Linked DNA regions of Homo sapiens: all the other regions are linked to region 4. Evidence: promoter capture Hi-C in 16 types of primary human blood cells and fetal thymus (Javierre and others, 2016). All regions are on one chromosome and are shown on one strand. Each heading gives the region's core, a stretch centred on a gene start or on the middle of the fragment in contact. The rest is flanking DNA. Distances are from core to core; before and after follow the strand shown.

Region 1 (3,492 bases), core at 942-3,441, 3.6 Mb after region 4:
ACAGAACTTCCATCCATAGGACACTTTATGAGTTTCCTATTGCAGCTGTAACAATGTGCCACATACTTAGTGGACAAAAACAACACAGATTTATTACATTAGAGTTCCAAAGGTCAGAAGTCCACAGTGGGCCTCACTGGTCTAAAGTCAAGGTGTCAGGAAGGCCCATTTTCCTTTCTAGAGACCATGGGAGAGAATTCATTTTCTTACCTTTTCCAGCTTCGTGAAGCTGGCTGCATTCCCCAGTTAGTGGCCCCTTCCTCCATCTTCAAAGCCAGCAAGGGCAGCTCCAGTCTTTCTCAGGATGATGCCATCTCCCAGAGATTCTAATTCTTCCGTCTCCCTCCTTCCCATTTAAAAACCCTTGTGATTACACTGGGTCCACATGGATAATCCAGAATAATCTCCTTATTTTGAAGCCATCTGATTAACAAACTTAATTCCATCTGCCACCTTAATTCCCCCTTGCCAGGTAACCCAACATATTCGCAGGTTCTAGGAATTAGGACATGGACATCTTTGGGGGATGATGATTTGTCTGCTACAAGCTCTATGATAGAAACCTCACATGGCAATCCTCTTCTAGTGCTTTCCAATCTCTTTTTTTACATCAGGGAATACAGTAAAAATGAAAAAAAAATTTACAGCACACTGAGGCAACTGGATAACCCTGTTAGGCCATGGCACAATATTTTGGGAGCCCTATACCCTACACTGACCACAGGATTGGTCACAGGCATTACTACTGCTCTTAAGGCTGAGGCACTTAAGGAACAAATCACAGGCATGCATGTGCCATTTCTGTGGAATCCTCCAGGGCAGCTGAGTGGGAGGATAGCCCTGCCATTCATTAATCAGACACCCTGCGTTCTTCCAACCTCAGGGGTTTTTTCTCTCCTCCTGGGCAGCAGTTTCTATCTTGTGATCTAAACATTAGCTTCCCTTGTGCTTCTATCTTTCTCCTTCCTTCTCTGGGGGAACTCAGTGTAACTCCTTGTTGCCCTTGACACTTGATAAAATGTCCATGTGAGTGGCAAGTGCTAGAATTCAATTCAAATTGGCTTAAGTGAAAAGGAGACTTTTTTGTCTCATATAACTGAAGTGTTCAAGGAAAGATGGTTTCAGGCACAGCTGGACCTAGGGCTAAATGGCTCTGAAATCCTCTATGAAGCTCTTTTCAGGTCCCATAAAGTAGCCATTGGTGATATCAGGTTCACATCAGTCTTTTCTGTTAGCAGTCCCAGCTGAAACATACTTTATAGATTGTCAAACATGAATTCATAGAGATTTCTTTTGACCTCCTATATGACCAATTTGAAAATATTCTAGAAGTGGAGGAAAAGACAGAATTGTTTTGTTTGTAACTAACAAATAGGGGAAATTTTCAGTATACCATTTATTATGGCTTGAAAATGAAATTTCAATTGCATGTCACTGTGCCAATACAAGCAGCTCAGAGGAATTGAGACAGGGAGGAGTTGCTCTTTTAAAGGTCCTCAGCTGGGCATGATGGCTCATGCCTGTAATCCCAGCACTCTGGGAGGTGGAGATGCAAGGGTTACTTGAGGCCAGGAATTCAAGACCAGCCTGGGCAACATAGTGAGACTCTGTCTCTACAAAAAAAAAAAAAAAAAGAACATAAAAATTAAAAAATTAGCCAAGTGTGGTGGCATATGCCTTGCAGTCCAGGCTGAGGCTGGAGGATGGCTTGAACCCAGGAGTTCAAGATTGCAGTGAGCTATGATCGTGATCATGCCACTGCCTGGCTGACCCTGTCTCTTAAAAAAAAAAAAAAGATAAATAAAAGTCCTTAAAAAATAAACTCACACAGAAGATGTCTACATAAAAAGAGTTCACACTTGATTTTAACTTTCTAACAAGGTAAAAGTCTTCTTTCTTTTAAGTTCCCCTCTGATCTCATAACTGAGGGGATGTGACCTAGTTTTCTAAGTATCTCAAGATCCACCAGTATTGATATATAAACTGATTTTGTTTCCTTCCAATAATAATTCCTTATAAGATAGTATCTCTGACAGTTTGGACAATGGCATTTGAACAGAAAATTATTTTCTCACACTAAAATATCTGGAAGAAAAATAATGATAGAAAAGTTATAGAAAAAGAGATGTTATCATTTGGGATTAAAAAAACATATTGTGAGGTGGGCACGGTGGCTCACGCCTGTAATCCCAGCACTTTGGGAGGCCAAGGCGGGTGGATCACCTGAGGCCAGGAGTTCGAGACCAGCCTGGCCAACATGGTGAAACCCTGTCTCTACTAAAAACACAAAAATTACCCAGGTGTGGTGGTGCACACCTGTAATCCCAGCTACTCAGGAGGCTGAGGCGGGAGAATCACTTGAACCCAGGAGGTGGAGGTTGCAGTGAGCCAAGATCACATCATTGCATTCCAGCCTGGGCTATAGTGCGAGACTCCATCTCAAAAAAAAAAAAAAAAAAAAATTTAAAAAAAAATTTAAAAAAAATTTGTGGATGACTAAACCTGTATCCCAATATCTTTATTAACAGATATCATTTATTTGGTATAAGGAAGATGTCCCAATGCAGATGAGTCTAGTTTATCATATAAGTAAAGGATTTTGTAACTTTTCAGAAAATCAAATTATGAGATATACACATATGACGTCGAATTTACTTATTCACTAAATAGTTATGGAAAATTTACCCTATACCAGTCACAGATATAGGCACTTGAGACACAGCAGTGGAAGATCCCTACCTCCAAGTAGCTTATATTCTATCAGGAGGAAACAGATAATAACATAATAAGTAATGAAATAAGGTGATAAGTGCTGTGTGAAAATAAAAACAGAGTAAGATAAAGGGATGGAGAGTGTGAGGGAGGAGGGACACAGTGTGGTATTAAATAGGGTGGCCAGAAAGGCCCCATTGAAGAGGTGACAGGTGAGCCAAGACTGGAAGAAGCTGAAGGGATTGGCTGTATAATCAAGAATGCTCCAAACAGAGGAACCAGCTAGTGCAAAGGCCCTAAAGAGAAAGCAAGCCTGGCGTGTTCCTGGAAGAGTGAGGATTCCTGTCTGGCTAGTACAGAATGAAGAAGGGTGTGATGGTTAATATTGAGTGTCAACTTGACTGGATTAAAGGATGCAAAGTATTGTTCCTGGATGTTCTGTGAGGGTGTTGCCAAAGGAGATTAACATTTGAGTCAGTGGACTGGGAGAGGCAGACCCATCCTCAATCTGGGTGGGCACCATCTAATCAGCTGCCAGTGCAGCTAGAATAAAGCAGGCAGGAGAAGACAGAAGAGTAGACTTGCTGAGTCTTCTGGCCTTCATCTTTCTCCTGTGCTGGATGCTTCCTGCCCTGGAACATAAGACTCCAAGTTCTTGAGCTTTAAGAGTCTTGGACTTATACCAGTGGTTTGCCAGGGGTTCTCGAGCCTTTGGCCACAGATTGATCCACCACTGGCTTCCTTGCTCCTCACCTTGCAGACAGACTATCATGGGACTTC
Region 2 (3,697 bases), core at 530-3,029, 3.7 Mb after region 4:
CGACAGAGCGAGACTCCGTCTCAAAAAATATATATATATAAAATTCATATCTATTCCCAGTATTCATACAATCAATACTTTTTATTATTTAATGAAAATTTAAAAATTTATTCTAAAACCAGCTTCTCTACTATGAAATTTTTCCTTTTGTTACTTATGAGAGTATCTTTGCATATTTATGTATTGCTGTCTCATTTTTGCTCTTCTGGCAACTTCTTTATTTTTAATCATGGCATTGATAAATTTTATCAGTGTCGTTAGTTGTTTTTTCTTTCTCTGCTTTTTCAAACTCAGCCTTTGCTGCAGAACAAGCCACTCCAAAACTTAGTGGCTTAAAACAATGATGATTTAGTCTCATGACTCTGTGGTTTGACTGGGTGTTTCTTCTGTTCTTGCCGGAGCTCACTTGGTGGCTCTACCAATGGGCCTGGGAAGCCTCTCTCTCCACCTGGTCATTCTCACCCAAGCTTCGTCTCATCATTGTGGTTTCAGAGTTCCCAGAGAGCAAGCCCCAGTGCATAAGCACTTATCAAGCCTCAGTTTAATGGCATGTTTGTTGAGGTCACATGGACGAAAGCCATGCCAACCAAGAGTCTGTATAGGAAGAGACTGTATACAATGACATGGATACCAGGACTGTGATTCACTGGGTGCCAGTATTGTTAATATTCTTCTATATCTACCTTCTGGCCTTTTTTGTCGTAGCATTTTTTCGCCCATTGTTTATTGAGAGGACTTTTATTTATTTATTTATTTTGCTGTGATAATTTTGTGTTATTTTAAGGGAACTATTTTATGCCATCAGTAGAATCTAGGCATGTTGATTTTTTTTTCATATTTTGACATCTCGGAAATAAACAATTACCATTGCTTTTTTTACAAGTTTATATTCATAAGTGAATTCACTAAAAGCATTTTAGGTTTTGAGAAAACCAAGATTTAAACAAATATAAAAATAAATAAATATGAACTTTGCCAAAAAGTGTGAAATCAGCATGCTCCTAGGATTTCTCTTGTAATTTTACAGTAAGAATTCTGTGAAAAGACAAAGAACCTTAAAAAGATAAAATGCATTGATCTTTATGTAGTAGAAATGTATAGATCAGGTTGGGAAAGACAAAAGATCTTGTCCATTTTGGAAAGTATTTTACATTGATATTTATTAAAGCTTATAAAGGGTAGATCACTGAGCAGTTTGTAAATATTCTTTTTATGAAGTTCACTAATATTCTAGTTGGGAAACATGAGTATTGTTTGAAAAACACATTAGAAAATGGTTTTACTCATGAGGAAGGCTGGTGAAACCATAGTCTTTGTATTCAATATAGGGAAAATACATAATTTTTAAGTCTGGAAAAGTCTGCATTGAAATAAAATTCTCTTATTATGGAATTGCAAAAATTGCTGCCCAAGGACAATTTCTGTAATGTCATAGTAATTCAAATGCCAACTCTGATGATTTTCAAAGCCATTTTCTTGATGACATTGGCTGTTACCAACTAAAACAAGCTTAAAGTCTCATTGTCCTCACCTGGTTACTCTAACTAGCCCGTGCATACTTCTGCAGTCTTATCTCAACACAGCTCCTTTATCCTATTGGCAGGACCCTGAAAACAACAGATTTATTTTGCCTTTGTGCCTTTAATCTGTATATGTCCTAGCTTTAAATATGTTGCCTTGCAGTCTTTCAATGTCTTCCTCCAGCAACCTTCCTGCATCTTTTCCAGTTACTGCCCCTCTGTTCGTTGCTCCACCTCAGAACTGTAGATACTTGCAGTTTGAATCAGAGGTTGATAAATAACTGCATATTGTTTCATGTGCATTAATGGAATTATAAGCCTCCTAGAGGAGAGTCTTACATGTTTTCCTTCATAGCACTTTGACAAAGCCATGGACAAATAGTAATTGCATACTGTATGTTTCCTGGTTGTTAGGAGATAAAGTCATTTTGATATAACTTATTTTTTTCTCCTTTAATAAAGGGATAGGATGGGATCTGCACTGATGATTGAAACAGCAAGAAACCCCACATGTCCTAAGGTAAGCTTAGAGTCTCTTAAATATAACACCTAGTTCCATCTGAAGGTCTGGTGAAAGCACTTGTCCTGAGGGCCATTTTATTTTATTTTATTTTTATTTTTTGAGACAGAGTTTCACTCTTATTGCCCAGGCTGGAGTGCAATAGCACGATCTCGGCTCACCATAACCTCCGTCTCCCAGGTTCAAGTGATTCTCCTGCCTCAGCCTCCCAAGTAGCTGGGATTACAGGCATGCACCACCACGCCTGGCTAATTTTTTTGTATTTTTAGTAGAGACAGGGTTTCTTCATGTTGGTCAGGCTGGTCTCAAACTCCCAAACTCAGGTGATCTGCCCGCCTTGGCCTCCCAAAGTGCTGGGATTACAGGCATGAGCCATCGTGCCCGGCCCTGAGGGCCCTTTTATTAAGGTATTACAGATTGTATTAATTCTTTATATATTGAGTCATTCTATGAAGAGATGGGATATCATCCTTATACCTTTTATAAATTCGGTAAAACTATACCAGAAATGGAAGAACATGAAAGATGGACTGAAAATAAGAATTATTTCATCATAATTTTAAAAATCAAATCTAGTGATTTAAGGAACATTATGACATTTTTTACCCTAGTTTTTTTTTTTTTTTGAGACGGAGTCTTGCTCTGTCGCCCAGGCTGGAGTGCAGTGGCACAATCTCGGCTCACTGCAAGCTCCGCCTCCCGGGCTCACGCCATTCTCCTGCCTCAGCCTCCCAAGTAGCTGGGACTATAGGCAGCCGCCACCACGCCCGGCTAATTTTTTGTATTTTTTAGTAGAGACAGGGTTTCACCATGTTAGCCAGGATAGTCTCGATCTCCTGACCTCGTGATTCGCCCACCTCAGCCTCCCAAAGTGCTGGGATTACGGGCGTGAGCCACCGCGCCCAGCCTTCTTACCCTAGATTTTTAAAGAGAAATTTTATATGCCTCTTAGATACAATACAATCATGCATCACTTAATGATAGGGATACATTCTGAGAAGTGTGTCATTAGATTATTTTGTCATTGTGCAAGTATTATAGAGTGTACTTAGACATACTTAGATGGTATAGCCTACTACACATGTAGGCTAAATGGTATAGCCTATAGTTCCTAGGCTATAAACCTGTGTTATAGAGTGTACTTAGACATACTTAGATGGTATAGCCTACTACACATGTAGGCTAAATGGTATAGCCTATAGTTCCTAGGCTATAAACCTGTACAGCAGGTGACTATACTGAATACTGTAGGCAATTGTGACACAATGATAAGAATACTTACGTATCTACAGATATACAAATATCTAGATAAAAAATATCTATAGAAAGATACAGTGAAAAATACAGCATAGAAGCCCGTTTATAGTCTTATGGGACCACTGTTGTATATGCGGTCCATCATTGACCAAAACATTGATATGCAATGCATGACTATATTAGATTATATTATTATAAAAATTGAATCCCCATTAAAATTGTAATGTCACTTAGATGTGTCTCAATGTGGCTCTTCATTTATTTGTGTGTTTGAAACCCAATGATCTGAGTGTTGCTTGAGTTCTGTTTAATATTACTTGTTTAAAGAATAGAATTTATGTGCCTAGAAATTTCATGCAGCTTGTATTTATTCTCAGATAACGAACTGTAACCATGAAAA
Region 3 (3,424 bases), core at 615-3,114, 4.5 Mb after region 4:
TTAAAATACCAGCTATAAATAAAGGTACTAACTTCCAAATACGTATTTTCAGTGCAGATCTTTCCTCTCATCTCCACTTGGCATCTCTCCTGTGTCTCAGTAGTTATCTCACACTAGCAGTCCAAGACCAAACACTTGTTCCCAAATTCCCGTCTCACCTCTACAAAAAAAGATTGTTTTCTGCCCCAAGTTTTCCTCAGCTCAATAATGGACCCTACCTAGTTGCTCAAACCAAAAGCCTAGGCATTTCTCCTTTCTCTCACATTCCTTCAAACACCACCAGAGTATTTACTGAAGCTGCCCATTCTCCTTCATTTTCACCAAACCAACCTTCCCTTCCCGTCTACTGCAATCAGCTATTTTCCATCATTCTTACCTCCCTCTCTTACACCATTCTTCATAGAACAGCCTATTGTATTTTTTAAGAGACTGTGTTCCTCCTCCACTTCTGTTCAATGGCTTCATATTCACTTAAATTAAAATTCAAACGTTTACCACGGCTTTCAATGACCTGAATGATGTGCCTGCTGCCCTCCTTTCCAATCTCACTTCAGGACTCCTACCCTCTGGCTATTAGGAGGCTGCAGCTGACTTCACTGTATCTTCCTACCTCAGTGCCTTCGCACTTGCTGGAAATGCTCTTCCTCTTGCTTTTTTCCCAGGGCTGGGTTCTTCTCATCCATCAGATCTTAGCTTCCACAAAGACCATTCCTAACAACCCTCTCTGAAATTTCGTCCTATGAATCTCTCCACAGCACTCGTTTATTTTCTTCAAAATAATCCGCAAACATTAAAAAAATAATAAATTTAAAAAAAAAGAACGTATTGTCTGTGTTCCTCCATAAAACAGAAGTTCTATCACGGACCTGGTCCGTCTCGTTTACCATTCCATCTTCCATCTCCCGACCTATAGATATCTGCATGTATCTTGCATAAATAAACATACACACCTACATAAATAAACATACACACCTAATTATATAACCAAGTAGATATCTGATGAGTGAGGACAACTCAATACTCAAGAAAAAGCCTTTTTTTCTCTATTTGTGATACGGTCGCTATAAATGTATGGGGCACATAACTCCAAGAGCACTCATTCAATATCCAAGAACCACAAAGAAGCAAAAGCCAGAAAATACATAACAAAGGGTGGAGCCACTCTTACTTGGAGAAAAGTATGAGAATGCCTTGATTTTAAACTCCTCTTTGTAAATACCCTCAAATGATGAGTAAGGACCTCAGCCGAAGCGCGGGGCATGCTTTTGGTTTAGGTAGAAAAACTGCTCCGAGTTTGATTCCAAAAACTCTATCAGACTCCCTTCTTTCACCCCTCTAGTCCATAAAGGATCGGAGAGACGACAGGGGGTGACCACTGCAGCACCCGCCCAAAGCTGACTGAGACAGCAGGAAGTCTCCAACCCATTCTCGCCCGTCCACTCCCAGCGTAAAGAGGATTCCGCGACTCGGAGACCGCAATCTACCCGCCAGTCTCCATAACGTAGGCCAGAGCAGCTGGGCTAAATAAAACAGAGCCGGGGCTCTCCCTTCCCGAAGGCCTACATCGCCCACTGGTCCGGGCTCGGAGCTCAGCAGAACCAGAGTAGGAGCGGTTGTTGCCGGCACGGAGGAGGTAGGTACCACACCAGACGGTAGGCCAGGAAACCGCAGGCCCCTGCCGGGCACAGGAAGGCATCTGTGAGATTTCTTCTCACTGCCACACCCTAGTGTTGTGGGGCGAGCATAATCCCTTTTGCCTGCTGTGCGACCAGCCCCAGGCCGGCCAAGGGGGCTTGGAACCGGGACCCCCACTGCCTCCGCCTCCTTACCAGTGTGATCCATGATTCGGCTCGCAGAGCACAGTGGGAGCGGAAGTCAACCGCGCCGGAGTCGCAGCGAGCGCGTGCGCACTGCCTTCCGGAGGCCGGGAGGCGGAAGTCCAAGCAGGTTGTCCCAATTTTGGCCTGCAAAGACTTCCTTCTCTCGCCTCTACTATCCAACTCCTGTGAGGGACTCAGGCATAGTTCGGGCGGAGGCAGAAAGAGCGAGCGCGCGAAGAACTTCGGTATTGAGGTTGCTAAGGCTTCTCCTCATGTGCTTCAAGAGAAAGTAGCCTTTAACTGTGGAAAGGACACCAGGGGGACCGGGGAAGGGGAGAGCAGTGGTAAAAATGAGCCAGAAGCAGATAAGGCGACTGCCCGCCCCGCGGAGAGCTGCCTTCTGGGACTTGTAGTGCGCGGGGCCCCCGGAGCCGGCTGGCTGCGCAGGCTCGGCCGTTGCGCTGGCCCCACCCCGGCGGGCGGAGTAACGGTTTGGAATCCCCCGGGGTCAGCGAGCGCTTGTTTCCTCCGCCTGGTGTAGCAAAAGTGTAAACACGCGCGCTCCGGAAGGCGCCCTCCAGTGGGAGGTTGCTCAGGGGATGGCGGAGCTGTGAAACTCGGAGCTAGAAGGAAAGTCTCAACGCTTGTCTAAATTTTGCTTTGTCGTGACGAGCTACCTAGACCCACGCAGAGCTAACTTGGTATATGCCCCGGTTCCCATCTCTTAAGTCTCTTTACAGTTGAAACACGTTTATAATGCTTGACTGCCACTCACTTTCTAGGGAGAGCGCTTGTGACGCTACGAACCTCTCGAACACCTGACGACTGGGCGCCAGGGCCGGATGGAGGGTGGAGAGCCAGTGCGGCGCAGCTGCCTCCTCTTAACGGGGACACCTTGCAGGAATGTGCGGAGTGGAGCTAACGGGAGCGGATAGAAACCGAGGGAGGGGAAGAGAGCGCGAAGGCTTGGCCGGAAGGAGAGGTTAAAAAGGAAAGGCCTAAAATGAGGAAGAGAGTTACCACAACAAGCAGTACCTAGTTCCAGTTCTTGGTCCCAGGAGTTTGTGGTTGTTGCTGCTTTCATCTTCCTCAGCCAACACAAAAGGAAAGTGCCAAGGGGCGATTCCTAGGACCTTCAGTGCAGTCTCCACCTTGCGGACTTGGCTCATTTGTGTCCACTCCTTTCTCCAGCCTTTTACACTTGATGCTCTTGGATGAATAGAAAGGAGCACAATTAATGGAAAACACAAGCTTGGGAGTCAAGGGATTTGGGTTCTATTCTTGTCCTCCCTTGGTGACGACATCATTACCTTGGGTTATTCAAGCTTTCAGTGCCAGAGTTCCTATATCAATAAAAGATTATTACATTGACCTCTTAGAGAAATGTTTTCATGGTACTGAATTGCAAATAAAGTATGTGTAGCGATGTGTTATATCTTTGTAGTTGTACGGTATTATTTGTGAATCATGCTGTGATGATCAGTGCGATTTAAGTGCACCATGTTATTTGGTGATTATTTTCCTGAGATCTTGTAAAAGATTTTTCTGCTCTATATATGCAGCTTTATAAACAAGTTTTTAGGTACATTCACAACTAAGGACAT
Region 4 (3,364 bases), core at 485-2,984:
AGTGCTGGTATTACAGGGGTGAGCCACCGTGCCCGGCCATTTTTTAAAATAAGTTAGACTGTGAGATAAATTCACCAGTTTAGATCTTAAACTGGTAGCCCTCTGGAACTTTGAAAATCTAGGAAACCGTAATAGTCTGTTACCATCAGATAGCCCAATATATAACCAACCCAAAAATAAACCATTAGGGTGTTAAATTCAATATTTAACTCAGGAGACTACCAAAGATTTGTTTGGTAGAGGTACTAAAATAATTTCAGAGTAGGGAGTTCCACTGTTGGGAAGTGGGAAAAAACTGCACTTCAACTCTGTGCCGCTGAGGTAAATACTTAAGATGATATCAATTTAACTGTGAAAGCAAAAACAAATAAATCGAAAAACAAAGTCGCAACAGTCTGAGAACTATATTTAAGCCCCAAACCATGTTCATCAGAAAAAGACAACTTGTGCTAAATTACACATCAAGACAAAAATGGGGTGGGGGGAATGGGGGAGGGATAGACTAAAGGTAAAAGAGTCCTAAACACAATCCACCTGCAGCTTTCAAAATTTGGTTTTTTATTCCTACAGTGGATCAGAGGACAACCTGAAAGTCAGGTACAGCCAAAGTTGTGATGGTTTTCAAAACTCTTTTCAAATGTTCTTTGAAGCCACGAGTGCAAATTATCTATCACTTTCCTTTTCTTTCTCTAAGGACCCAGAGACTGGGAAGATCTCTCAGGCTCCACATACAAATCTGAAGAACACCCAGAGCAGTTAACCATCTACAGGGAGGTTGTGAGATACACACACTTTCCCTTCAGAGGTCACCTCAGCCACAAACTGGGCAAATCTGTAGAGTGGAGAGCAGTGACCACCAGTCTGCGACTGGAAATACTCCGGAAGCTAAATAAAACACACCTGCGAGGTCAAACCAAGCAAACCAAGGCAGTGTACTGGTGAGGAGAAAGAGCTGCTAATCCCAAAATTATAAACACACGCGCGCGAACCAGATCTGAACCAAACCCACTCAGCAGCTAGCTCAAAGCTGGGAGCTCCAAACCAGAAGACAAACGCTCAGGGAGCTTCCCCGGCGGAGGGGAAGGCCATTCCATGGCATTTTCTCCGCCATCCCATGGCATTTTCTCCGCCATCCCCGGGCAGCCCCAACCAAGTAGCCGCCACCGGCTCCAACCCATCCCGCTGGGCCACCACCCGTGGGGCCCAGTCGAACCCAGGTGGCCCCAGAGCTGAAGGGCTCCTAGGGTCAGACCAGAGGTCCGTTGCACACCCGGTCATAGAGAAAGGAAGACACATCAGCCGCGCCTCCGGGGCACCGTACTCACCCCCATAACCTACACCCCCGACTGTGCTGCAGCTCCCATCACGGTCTTCCTGCATTCGGGCGACAGCCCCCTGGGTCTTGGAAGCAGCCATTACCCGGCAGAAAAGAAAAGGGAGGGCCGCAGGGCGGGTCGGAGGCGGGGTGGCACCAGTAGAAACGCTACTGGAGGCGAACTCCCCGTCGACGTAATGTTTTCTCCACACCTACGCCGCGCTCTGGACCAATAGGACGCAATCAGTAAAACTGAATCCCCGCCCCGAACCACATTTGCCGCGCCCACTTCCGGGATGGGGAGGCCAAGAACTACAATTCCCAGCGTGCTGCGGGGCCCTGGGACGGGAGGGCTGGACTAGGCGCTGGCGGGCGGGGGTGCGCCGGAGAGTGCCCCGGCGTGTTCGCTTAGTTCAGTGAATCAGAACAATGACTGCGCCGCCGGGTACCCGGGAGCGCGTCGGAGGACTGTGAGCAGCCGCCGCCGGGAGAGCTGCGGGCGGCGCAGTGTCAACGCTGGGCTCGGGAGCCTCCAGCGCAGATCCTGCCCAGCGCCCGCAGCCCGCGCGAAGCCGCTGGGCTCCGGCACTGCAGCGCTGCTCGGGGACTGTGCATTGTTGTGAGCCGGAGAAGGGGCGCGGGGATTACAAAGCCTGAAGACCCCGGAGCCCCTTTAGCCATGTGGATACCTACGGAGCACGAGAAATACGGCGTGGGTGAGTCTCCGCGGGGCGAACTTTTATTCTGCTCTGGCCCGAGCGAGTGCGCATTTCTCGTCCTTGCCCCCGCGCCCCTCTCGCTCCGCCCGGTTGAAAATGCCTAATCCTGGCATCGCGCAGCTGGTACGGGGCTTTGCCGAGCCAGCTCCAGGCAGAGGGCTGCGCACCAGGCTCTCGCCCCGCACCGCCTGCTCGGCGCGCCCCGCACTGGTTCCCGAAGCGCCGGGACAGCTTGGGGGAGCGCGCGGCCGGCCCGCTAGCTTCGGGCTCTGCCTGCGGAGTTTGGAGTGGCGACTGGGCGTGTGTGTGTGTGTGTGTGTGTGTGTCAAGTTGGAAGAGGAGGCGAATGGGGTTTCTCTCCTTCCTTACCCTTCTTCCCCAAAGCGACAGGGAGCTGCAACGGTTCCTCTGGGTGGAGAGGGAGACAACAACACTCGGGCAGAGAGAACACCCCCAAAACAGTAGGGAGGCGCAAACCCTTCCCTCTGGCTCGGATCGACATTCCCGGAGTGTGGAATGTGGCAGGGTCCTGGAGAGAGCCGCTCTGACAAGCTGAGCCCTCTCTGACCCTCCTCCCTCTCTGCGATCCCGGATTTATGGGGTGTGTATGTTGCGGGGCGGGGGCATTGGTAAATTTCAACATCTGCGCCGCTCGGTTCTTTGGTCTTTGGAGAAGAACGGGTATTTCAGCAGTGTTTTTACTTCTGGCCACCCTCTCGACCCCGGGTGAGCGCAGTGGGGGCGGTGTGGCGGTACAGGGCTGCTGAGTGATAAATGGGGAGGGGGATCGGAAAGCCTGGTTCTTGGGGGCAGGGAGATAGCTTTTAGGAAAGCATACCCTGACACTGGCGTTCGGAGAAAAAGGAACAGGATAGCTCTCGCTGTTCTGTGTAAAGGTGAACAACAAAGGACATTAATGTTGACTGATGAATACAGGAGTCTCCCTTCCTTTTCCTCCTCCCATTTCAGGCGGGTTACAGTTCCCGTTTTTGTTGTTTGATTTCAGCTGGGTCGCCCCTTGACAGTTACTCCTTTTAGGGTTGAGACTATTAAGAAGCCAGGCTCTCCGACAAGGCTGCAGCCGGCCAAATGCAATTATAACCTCCCAGAAGGTCTAACAGAAAGCATTATGGATTTTACTAACACTCTTTATTTCCTATAATGCCCTGTTCTGCCGACTGGTGTACTTTGTGTGTGTGTGTGTGTGTGTGTGTGTTTTAAAATTGAGGACAGGTCTAGTGATTTAGGTGATGTGTAGATATCTGCTTATGTTCTAAATTCATTTTCCTGCAATTTAAAACATCTGGAAAGCCTTCCCAGGGAGTCGTAG

Evidence for each region. Contacts are between HindIII fragments. The CHiCAGO score rates a contact against its expected background, and 5 or more counts as called.
Region 1: a fragment that was not itself captured here is called in contact with the fragment with the promoter of DOCK4 in region 4 in 1 of 17 cell types (non-activated CD4 T cells); the score reaches 8.8 in non-activated CD4 T cells.
Region 2: a fragment that was not itself captured here is called in contact with the fragment with the promoter of DOCK4 in region 4 in 1 of 17 cell types (total CD4 T cells); the score reaches 5.6 in total CD4 T cells.
Region 3: a contact is called between the fragment with the promoter of CBLL1 here and the fragment with the promoter of DOCK4 in region 4, in 1 of 17 cell types (fetal thymus). The highest score is 5.9, in fetal thymus.

What each region holds. Positions count from the first base shown.
Region 1 is chr7:108,587,414-108,590,905 of GRCh38, reverse strand. No RefSeq gene overlaps it. Among named protein-coding and RNA genes, the nearest start is that of DNAJB9, 19 kb to the right of the region's middle. The HindIII fragment of the contact is 6,518 bases long and covers 1-3,492 here.
Region 2 is chr7:108,489,753-108,493,449 of GRCh38, reverse strand. PNPLA8 (patatin like domain 8, phospholipase A2) reads left to right here. Exons shown (of 11, transcript NM_001256007.3): 8 at 1,983-2,040. Among named protein-coding and RNA genes, the nearest start is that of PNPLA8, 35 kb to the left of the region's middle. The HindIII fragment of the contact is 536 bases long and covers 1,512-2,047 here.
Region 3 is chr7:107,742,582-107,746,005 of GRCh38, reverse strand. It overlaps CBLL1 (Cbl proto-oncogene like 1), which reads right to left and starts at 1,864. Exons shown (of 6, transcript NM_024814.4): 1 at 1,830-1,864. The coding sequence starts at 1,842. CBLL1-AS1 (CBLL1 antisense RNA 1) reads left to right here and starts at 1,425. Exons shown (of 2, transcript NR_144537.1): 1 at 1,425-1,633; 2 at 2,603-3,253. RefSeq lists enhancers at 1,390-1,569, 1,920-2,139, 2,237-2,755, 2,756-3,275 and a silencer at 2,180-2,379. The HindIII fragment of the contact is 5,122 bases long and covers 1-3,073 here.
Region 4 is chr7:112,204,769-112,208,132 of GRCh38, reverse strand. It overlaps DOCK4 (dedicator of cytokinesis 4), which reads left to right and starts at 1,734. Exons shown (of 53, transcript NM_001363540.2): 1 at 1,734-2,031. The coding sequence starts at 1,995. It overlaps ZNF277 (zinc finger protein 277), which reads right to left and starts at 1,438. Exons shown (of 12, transcript NM_021994.3): 1 at 1,326-1,438. The coding sequence starts at 1,416. RefSeq lists an enhancer at 1,223-1,342 and a silencer at 1,513-1,862. The HindIII fragment of the contact is 7,990 bases long and covers 1-3,364 here.